Linked DNA regions of Homo sapiens: region 1 is linked to region 2. Evidence: promoter capture Hi-C in human tissues and cell types (Jung and others, 2019). All regions are on one chromosome and are shown on one strand. The core of a region is centred on a gene start or on the middle of the fragment in contact, and the rest is flanking DNA. Distances in the headings are between cores, read along the strand shown. Region 1 overlaps MYRFL (myelin regulatory factor like). Region 2 holds the start of LYZ (lysozyme).

What was found. The method cuts DNA at HindIII sites, captures the fragments that hold promoters and counts their contacts. A contact is called where the count stands out against the background at its distance.
Region 1: a contact is called between a fragment that was not itself captured here and the fragment with the promoter of LYZ in region 2, in 1 of the 25 tissues and cell types used here (H1 embryonic stem cells).

Annotation. Positions count from the first base shown.
Region 1 is chr12:69,870,835-69,875,546 of GRCh38, reverse strand. All of the region lies in intron 2 of MYRFL (myelin regulatory factor like), which reads right to left. Among named protein-coding and RNA genes, the nearest start is that of MYRFL, 48 kb to the right of the region's middle. RefSeq lists an enhancer at 3,574-3,743. The HindIII fragment of the contact is 5,819 bases long and covers 1-4,712 here.
Region 2 is chr12:69,347,084-69,352,153 of GRCh38, reverse strand. It overlaps LYZ (lysozyme), which reads right to left and starts at 3,773. Exons shown (of 4, transcript NM_000239.3): 1 at 3,610-3,773; 2 at 1,882-2,046. The coding sequence starts at 3,745. The HindIII fragment of the contact is 15,407 bases long and covers 1-5,070 here.

The DNA.
Region 1 (4,712 bases), core at 1,650-4,149, 520 kb before region 2:
AAAAACTGCTCTCTACAAAGAACCAGAAAAATGTGGCCTAGCTTGGAGGGAGAGAACAATCTGTGAACACTAACCCAGAAATGATCCAGATACTGGATTAGCAGACAAGGATCTTTAAAGCAGCTACTATAAGAAGCTAAATGGAGCAGACAAGCACATGCTTGTGAAAAAAAATAAATAAAATCTCAGCAAAGAAATCAAAACTACAAATAAAAAAACTAAATAGAAATTCTAAGATTAGAAAAATTCCAGAAATAAAAATTTAAAAAAATTATTAGATGGGCTTAAAACAGAACTCAAAGATACATCAATAGACATCATCCCATCTAAACAACAGAGAGGAAAAAAATGAACTTTAAAAAAGAGAGAGAAAAAGAGATTTATGAACCTGCAGAGAGGATGAAACAGAAAAAAAAATTAAGATATAACAGCCAAAATCTTCCTAAATTTAGGAAAAGATATAAATGTATATATCTTTATGAAGATATATACTTCACTCTGATGTGGTAGATGTATTTATTTTGCTGAGCTTCTTAAAGATATAAATGTATATATCTTAGATATATACATTTATATCTTTAAAGATACATACATTTATATCTTTAAGAAGCTCAGCAAAATAAATACATCTACCGCATCAGAGTGGAGTAACTGTAAGCCAAAAATAAAGAGAAAGTCTTAAAAGTAGCTAAAGAAAAACAGTACCTTATGTGCAGGGTCATAGTGATTCAAATAATCACTGACTAATCAAAATCTCCAGAGGCCAGAAGACAGTACAAAAACATCTTTAAAGTGCTACAGAAAAACAAAATTGGTAAGCCAGAATTTGATATCCAATGAAAATAGTCTTCAAGAATGAAAGCAAAATAAAGATATTTTGAGATAAAAGAAAACTAAGTGAATTTGAGAATAGACATGTACAATAAGAAATGTTAAAGACAGTTATTCAGGCTAAAGGGAAATGGTTCTAGATGGAAATTTGAAACTATGAAAAGGTATGAAGAGAATAAAAATGATATATTATTGAATGTAAATTATTTTTTATCTTAATTTTTAAAAATACATCTGAAGGTGGGCACAGTGGCTCATGCCTATAATCCCAGCACTTTGGGAGGCCGAAGGAGAAGAGTTGCTTAAGACCAGGAGCTTAAGACTAGCCTGGACAACATGGGAAGACCCTGTTTCTACAAAAAATATTAAAATTAGCAGGGCGTGGTGGCATGCACCTGTGCTCCCAGCTACTCAGGAAGCTGAGGCTGAAGGATCGCTTGAGCCCAGGAGAATGAGGCTTGAGTGAGCCATGAGTTGCCACTGCTCCCTAGCCTGAGCAACAGGCTGAGAAGTTATTTCAAAAATAATAATAAAATAAAATAACAAAATAAAATACATTTGAGTGCTTAAAGTAAAAATTATGATTTTGTGAAGTTTATAATGCACATAGGTATAATACTTAGGACAGCTATAGCATAGGGGATGGGAGTTGGAGATCAATGGAACTACATTGTTGATGGTTCTACATTTTATGTAAAGTGGTACAATATTAACTCATTAACTCTAAGTAAACTGTAAAAAGTTAAATAATGCAAAGAAGTAGAACTAAAGTCAACAGATAAAATGAAATTCTAAAATTATTCAAACAATACAAAATAAACCAAGAAAGGAGTTACAGAAGAATAAGAAACAGAAGGGGCCAAAAAAAAAAAGACAGACAAATAATTAAATGTCAGACTTAACTACAGATATAGTCCTCCCTTATCCATGGTTTCACTTTCTAAGGTTTCAGTTACCCACAATCAACCTTGGTCCAAAAATATTAAATGGAAAATTCCAGAAATAAATAATTTGTAAGTTTTAAATTGCACTCCATTCTGAGTAGCATGATGAAATCATAAACCATGAATCATCCCCTTTTTCCAGTATATCCACACTGTATCCACTACCCACCCATTGTCTTAGTAGCCTAAGACAAAGACGGATTTCCTGCCACGATATCACATTGCTTGTGTTCAAGTAACCTTTATTTTACTTTATAATGGTTCCAAACACAAGACATGTAAAGTTGGCAATTTGTATATGCCCAAGAGAAGCCACAAAGTACTTCCTTTAAGTGAACATTTGAAAATTCTTGACATAGTAAGGAAAGAAAAAAAAATCGTGTGCTGAGATTGCTAGAATCTACTGCAAGCTTGTCCAACCCGCCACCCGTGGGCTGCATGCAGCCCAGGACGGATGCAGCCCAACACAAATTTGTAAACTTGTAAAAAACGTTATGAGATTTTTTTCTGATTTTTTTTTGGTTTAGCTCATCATCTATCATTAATCTTCGTGTATTTTACATGTGGCCAAAGACAATTCTTCTTCTTCCGATGTGGCCCAGGGAAGCCAACAGATTGGACACCCCTGATCTACTGTAAGAATTAATCTTCTATTCATGAAACTGTAAAGAAAGAAAAAGAAATTTGTGCATAGCATATATAGGGTTTGGTACTACCCTCAGTTTCAGGCATCCAGTAGAGGTATTGCAACATATCCTCCATGAATAAGGAGGTCTATTGTGCAATACTAATAATTACATTAGATGTTAAAAGATTAAACACTCCCATTAAAAGGCAGAAATTAGGCCAGGCACGGTAGCTCACCTAATTCCAGTGCTTTGGGACGCTGAGGCAGGAGGATTGCTTGAGGTTAGGAATTCAAGACCAGCTTCAGCAACATAGTGAGACCCTGTCTCTAAAAACAAAATGTAAAGGCCAGGCGTGGTGGCTCACACCCGTAATCCCAGCACTTTGGGAGGCCGAGGCAGGTGGATCACAAGGTCAGGAGCCTAAGACCAGCCTGGCCAACATGGTGAAACCCCATCTCTACTAAAAATACAAAAATTAGCCGGGCACAGTGGCGCACACCTGTAATCCCAGCTACTCACGAGGCTGAGGCAGGAGAATCGTATGACCTCAGGAGGCAAAGGTTGCAGTGAGCCGAGATCATGCCATCGCACTCCAGCCTAGGCAACAGAGCGAGACTCCATCTCAAAAAAAAAAAATTTTTTTTATTTAAGATTAGCCAGGTGTGGTTGTGCACACCTATAGTCCCAGCTATTCAGGAGGGTGAGGCAGGAGGATCACTTGAGCCCAGAAATTTGAGGTTACAATGAGCTGTGATCATGCCACTGCACTTCAGCCTAGGTGACAAAGTGAGACCCTGTCCCTAAGGGGGAAAAAGGGCAGAAATGATCAGAATGGATTTTTAAAAAGCAACTCTCTTTTGCCTGCAAAAACACTTGAAATATAAAGACACAGATAAGTCAAAAGTTAACCAAGAGAAAAATGTGTACAAGAAGGGTGAAGCAGTTTCATGAATAATAGCTAAAACTGACTTCAAAATAAAGAGTACCACCACAGACAAAGAGGCTCATTTCTAATAATAAAAGAGTCATTTTTTAGGAAGGCATAGGAATCATGATTGTTTATGTACTTAATAACAGAGTTTCAAAATACGCAAAGCAAAAATTAATGAAACTAAAAGATGTAGACAATTGTACAATCACATAGCTAAATATTTTAACATTCCTCTTTCATCGATGATAGAACACAATGGGGAGAACAAGTTGATAGAACCAAAAAGTCACTAAAGACATACATGGATTGAGGAGTTTATTGACGAGGAAAAGAATTGATTATTTTTAACATTGAGAAAAATTTTCAGCTCTTTTTAGAGAACTTGAGGGAACCAAAGCCAAACAAATTGTAAAAACAAGGCAATGATTCAAACAAAGCAAAAAAAAATGAAAATTATATGTGACACATCATGATAATGTAAGCCCTGGATATTGACATAACTAAAAAATTTTAGACAATTTTATGATATTGGGAAGCTGAGTGTAGAAGTGAATGTAAGATGTGATATAAGAAAATTAAATCTTCCCAGAAGATTATATTATGTTCTTCAAGTGTATACAGCAAAAAAGCAATATAAAAACATTATTTAGATATAGGGCAATAAAAATATCCAAAAAGAGGGCCAGGCGCGGTGGCCCACGCCTGTAATCCCAGCACTTTGGGAGGCCAAGGTGGGTGGATCACGAGGTCAAGAAATCAAGACCATCCCGGCTAACACGGTGAAATCCTGTCTCTACTAAAAAAAAATACAAAAATTAGCCGGGCATGGTGGTAGGTGCCTGTAGTTCCAGCTACTCGGGAGGCTGAGGCAGAATGGCGTGAACCCGGGAGGCGGAGCTTGCAGTGAGCCAAGATTGTGCCACTGCACTCCAGCCTGGGCGACAGAGCAAGACTCCATCTCAAAAAAAAAAAAAAAAAAAGAAATATCCAAAAAGAGTTGGAAAGTGGCTGCCTCTGGGGGAGCCAATTTAAAGACAGGGGTAGAGCAGGGGGATTGCTGGTAATCTCCTATTATATGCTATATACAGTATCATTTGACTTCTTAAATTCTTCACATGTATCACTCTAGGTCTATAAATTAAATTTTGTAACTGACTCTGTGATCTCATAATTCCACATTTAAGGCTCTAGGCAGTTGTTTAGTTACCCTGACACTACAGGCATCATTGAATTCAATAATGTAATAAAAACTGAAAATCACAATTAAATGATCAATCTACTAAAAAAAATATGGCTTGGCATATTGTAAACAGGAATGCAGTCTCCATCCAGCAGTCCCTTAACGAGAACCAAAAGTCCCTGCGTTGAGTGACAGGA
Region 2 (5,070 bases), core at 2,524-5,023:
GCTTTTTTCTGTTAGGCTGTGGAAAGAATGGTAAGATATTATTTTCTATGAGTCCATATATGTGTAATTGTTGGGGAAAACTCTCTTCATTCTCTCCCATTCAGCATGAAATGAAGCATTTTTTTCTTCATTTACCAAAGTCATTGGAAGCTCTGGAAGTATTAACAAAATGATTAAAGGTCTTCTTTGCACTAGACACTGTAAAAAAACACCTAGTGATATTTTACTCAGCAGTTCTATTATTGAAAATTTATCCAAAAGAAATAAGAAATGCACCCAAAGATGTATACAAAAAGCTATTCATAGCAATTTATGAGGGAAAAATGGAAACAACCTAAGTGCTCAATAGTAACAATTGGATCAGTAAATTATAGAATATTCATATATTAAAATTCTAGTCATTCTTTTAAAATGATGATACAGATTTGTATTTTTTTCTCATCTGGAAAATGGAGCAAAAGATCATTAAAAACCGATTTGTATTTGCTGACATGCAAATAATTTTGTGTGATAAGAAGCAAATTGTAAAGCCGTGTGTATAATACAATTTAATTTTTGCAAAAGCACACAGTATTTACATGTTTGTATGTGGGTTTATATGTGTATGATATAATTTAACATTCATACACATGATTGATATACATTCTGGAAGAATATATACCAGAATTTACCCATGGTTATAAACCTCTGGGTAGTAAGATTATGGGTGTTATTTTTCTTATTTGTATTTTCTAATTTTTATTTAATGACCAAATATTATTATATAATATAAATTTTTTTAATTAACTGGATTTTAGAAATAAGATTAATGTTCTTTATTGGGAATTTTAATATTTAACAATTTAATAATATCAACTTTGCAAGATTTCTGCAATATTTTTGACACTGAGGATTCCACATGGTATTTCTATTTTTATGAGTTCAGTAAAATATTTGTTTCACTCCAAATAAATAAATCCTTAAGTTAATTTGTTATTTACAATAATAATTCTACAGGAACTGTATTTTTTGAAGATGTAAACTAAAGAATTTAGAAATGGAATATCATCATGTTCCTAATTCACTTAAAAGTCTCTCAGCAGTAGCCAGGTACAGTGGCTAACGCCTGTAATTCCAGCACTTAAGGAGGCTGAGGTGGGAAGATTGCTTGAACTCAGGAGTTCAAGACCAGCCTGGGCAACACAGAATTTGCCTGTACTAAAAATTTCAAAAATTTGCCAGGCATGGTGGTGCACACCTGTAGTCCCAGCTACTTGGGAGGCTGTGGTGGGATGATCACTTGAGGCTGCAGTGAGCTGTGATGGTGCCACTGCACTACAGCCTGGGGACAGGGAGACCCTGTCTCAAAATAAAACAAAACAAAACCAAACAAAAAACTCTCAGCAAAAAAAAAAAAAAAAAAAAAAAAAAAAAAAAGGCATAGAAGAAGCAACTATGGCAAAATGTTAACAACTTTTAAAGTGCATAATGGGCATATGGCTGTTTATTATACTAATGTCTCTAATTTTCTATACATTTAGAACATTTCATAAAAAAAAAAGTAAAACAATTGAAAAAGGACCATACAACTAAATTATCCCAAAACCTCCCCAAAGTAAGCAGGAGCAATGGCATTGTTCTGGACAAAGCATCAGTAAGGCCATTGACAGTAAATTAATAGGTCATTCCAGAAACTTCTGTATATTAAAAAACATCAACCTTTTATGATACCACTTCTTTAATTTCTTACTCAGGGAATTATGAGGAAAATAATAATGACTTTCTGGAAGTTGAGATGTAGTTTTTCTAGGTCCCTCATGAACCTTTCAAGGCTTTTTCATTTGTATTGAGTCTCAATTCTTGTAAGTATAACCAGATTGGTCAAATATTAGCTTGTCTTACCACTGCAGGATAAATGACAGGCATTAACTGCTCCTGGGGTTTTGCCATCATTACACCAGTAGCGGCTATTGATCTGAAATATCCCATAATCAGTGCTTCTGTCTCCAGCATTGTAGTTTGTAGCTCGTGTGTTGTAACCACTCTCCCATTTGGCCAAACACATCCCTGAAAAGAACTTATTTTTAGTAATAAACAGCAACACTAAGTGACTTATACTCTATAGCAAAATCAGTTCTACTTAGCTACTTCTATTTTACTGATTTGTTTTATAAGTATAAAGATTTACTTATAAAATATCTTAGCACTTTAGTGTTAAGATAAGGGACTTGTAAGAGAATCCTTTTGTAATGCAAATCATCTTGTAACACCAACGAACAATATAACATACTTTTAAAATATTAAAATACATGTTTGTTCCATTGCTTTTACCCTTCCCGTGCTCCCATCCCTCAGGCAACATTCAGCCAAGAACAGAAAAATCAACAGAGCTGTTGAGTAGATTTTGTAAATTCATAGCAGATACATAGGCTGATGGAAAAATGCTTTTTTTAATCAGAAAAACATAAGGATTTTCTGATAGAAATTTTCTTATAATATCTAAAGGTGAATTTGGATATCAAGTTAGAATCTTGAAAACAAGACTATTCCGTGATTTCATCCCTTCACTCATTCATTCAAAAATAGCTATTGAGGGGAAATGTCTGAATTCAATCTGAAAACTACAGAGATTATTACATCGACAACTATGTACTAAACTATAAAATAACTTTTCCTCATGGCACATCTTGAATTGTGTGGGAGAAAATGAAAGATAGTTAATCAAGTAGAGTAGATAAAAATAATAAAACATTTCATGCTGAGTTTCTGGGATCCTATACAAAGAGTGACTGAAGGGAACTAGGTTCCTACTGCTCTTGTGTAGGGAATTCAATATATTCTTTAAAAACATCACTGTTAAAAATCCCATGTCGGCTGGGTGCAGTGGTTCACACCTGTAATCCTACCACTTTGGGAGGCTGAGGTGGGCAGATCATTTGAGGCCAGGAGTTCAAGACCAGCTTGGCCAACATGGTGAAACCCCATCTGTACTGAAAATACAAAAAATTAGCTGGGTGTGGTGGTACACACCTGTAGTCACAGCTACTCAGAAGGCTGAAGCACGAGAATCACTTGAGCCCAGAAGGCAGAGGTTGCAGTGAGCTGAGATCATGCCACTGCACTCCAGCCTGGGCCACACAGTGAGACTGTCTTTAAAAATAAAATAAAATAAAATAAAAATAAAAATAAAAATCCCACATCACGGCAGGGGACTTGAAGACAAGAAAAATACTGCATCACTCTAGGCTCTCAGAGCCCAAGTTCAAAATGGGAAATAACTGGAGTCACATACCAAGGACTTGAGAGAGCTCTGCCAGGTCCTCAAATGTATCTTTCAGTCAGCTTACATGTGCCATTGAATCTCAGGCACCCAGCAAACTTCCTAGCACTAGAACAGTACAACAGGTCCTGTTTTACTTAGAATGGAATTTTCCCCTGCCATGCCCGTATTCCTTTATCGGGTATCTCTGGTTATAAAGAACCAAACTGATGTTTTTAGCCATTGTAAGTATACAAACCCACAAAGAAATAAAACATCTATTCACTCAAAGCCCCTTCTTCTTCTTCCTTCTCTCCTAGTGTCTGTTCCATACGTAGCTAATTCTCTGGAATTATGGAGAGTAGACTTACAGTTTGCTAGGCTGATTCCCCTGTAGCCATCCATTCCCAATCTTTTCAGAGTTCTGGCCAACTCACACCTTTCAAAGACCTTGCCCTGGACCGTAACAGAAAGGAGGACAAGCCCCAGAACAATGAGAGCCTTCATGTTGACTGCTAGGTCAGAGTGCTAGGCTGACCAGGGTGAGCTGGCCCCAGTATTTAACATCTTTTAACTTCCTTCTTCCCCTTGTGGTTTGGGGGCTCCACCCTTTCAGTTGTGTGGAAAACAGGAACTGTCTATTGATCCACTGACTCTAAAGAGATTTTTTTAATGCTTGAAGAGAGATATGCTGATGTCCTAAGAATTAGTCTACAGGAAAATAATGAAATGGAATTGTTTAAAGTACTGGCTCTGGAAGAATTGGGGCATAGCACTACTTCCAAGACAGGAACTTTCTTCTGTTTGATTATGAATTTGAGCAATTATAAAGAAAAAAATGACTATTTTGTGCAGCTTAAAATGAGCTGTGATTTTTGAGTAACATTCAATTTTGTGAAATTGTTTTGTATGCATTCACTTTTTTATATTTATCTTTTTTACTTAAAATTATTTTACATATCTTTTCCACAAAATGGACATGACACATGTGCCTGTTGTCTTAATGGGTGTATAGTGTGACACCACGTTGCTCAGCTAGTTTCTTACTCTAGACTCTTTTTGTTACTATAGCAAATTTTTTATTATTATAAATCAGTGTTTTACTATTATAAATAAGGTTCATGTGAACAACTTTACCAACTACCTTTTTTTTTTTTTTTTTGAGATGGAGTCTTACTCTGTCACCAGGCTGGAGTGCAGTGGCGCAATCTCAGTTCATTGCAACCTCTGCCTCCCGGGTTCAAGCAATTCTCCTGCCTCAGCCTCCCAGGTAGCTGGGACTACAGGCATGTACCACCATGCCCAGCTAATTTTTGTATTTTTAGTAGAGACAGGGTTTCACCATGTGGCCAGGATGGTCTGGATCTCTTGACCTCGTGATCCGCCCGCCTCGGCCTTCCAAAGTGCTGGGATTACAGGTGTGAGCCACCACATCCGGCCTACTTTACCAACTACTTTTCACAATACTTTGCCTCCCCTTTCCATATTAGAACATAAGGGGTCATTAGAAAGCAACAGCATTTTAAAAATAAAACCTACCCAAACATATATCCAACTAAATGCTACCTTTGAAAATAGCAATCTCAGGAGGCTGTGCACAGCTTTTAAAACAATGCTACCAGAACTCAAAAAGAACTGCACTTCTGTATCTGCCTAAGAGGACAGATTCTGAGCCACACAAAGTGTCATCACTTTGTAGTTACCCTTATTTTTCATCAGTGGCCTCTAAAGATTACCAGATTTGGTTTTAAATGACAGTTCAAGGACCCTGTTCAAAAATCAAGAATAATCTCATTTTTCAGGCTAGGCCTAATTTTGATTCTTCAATAATA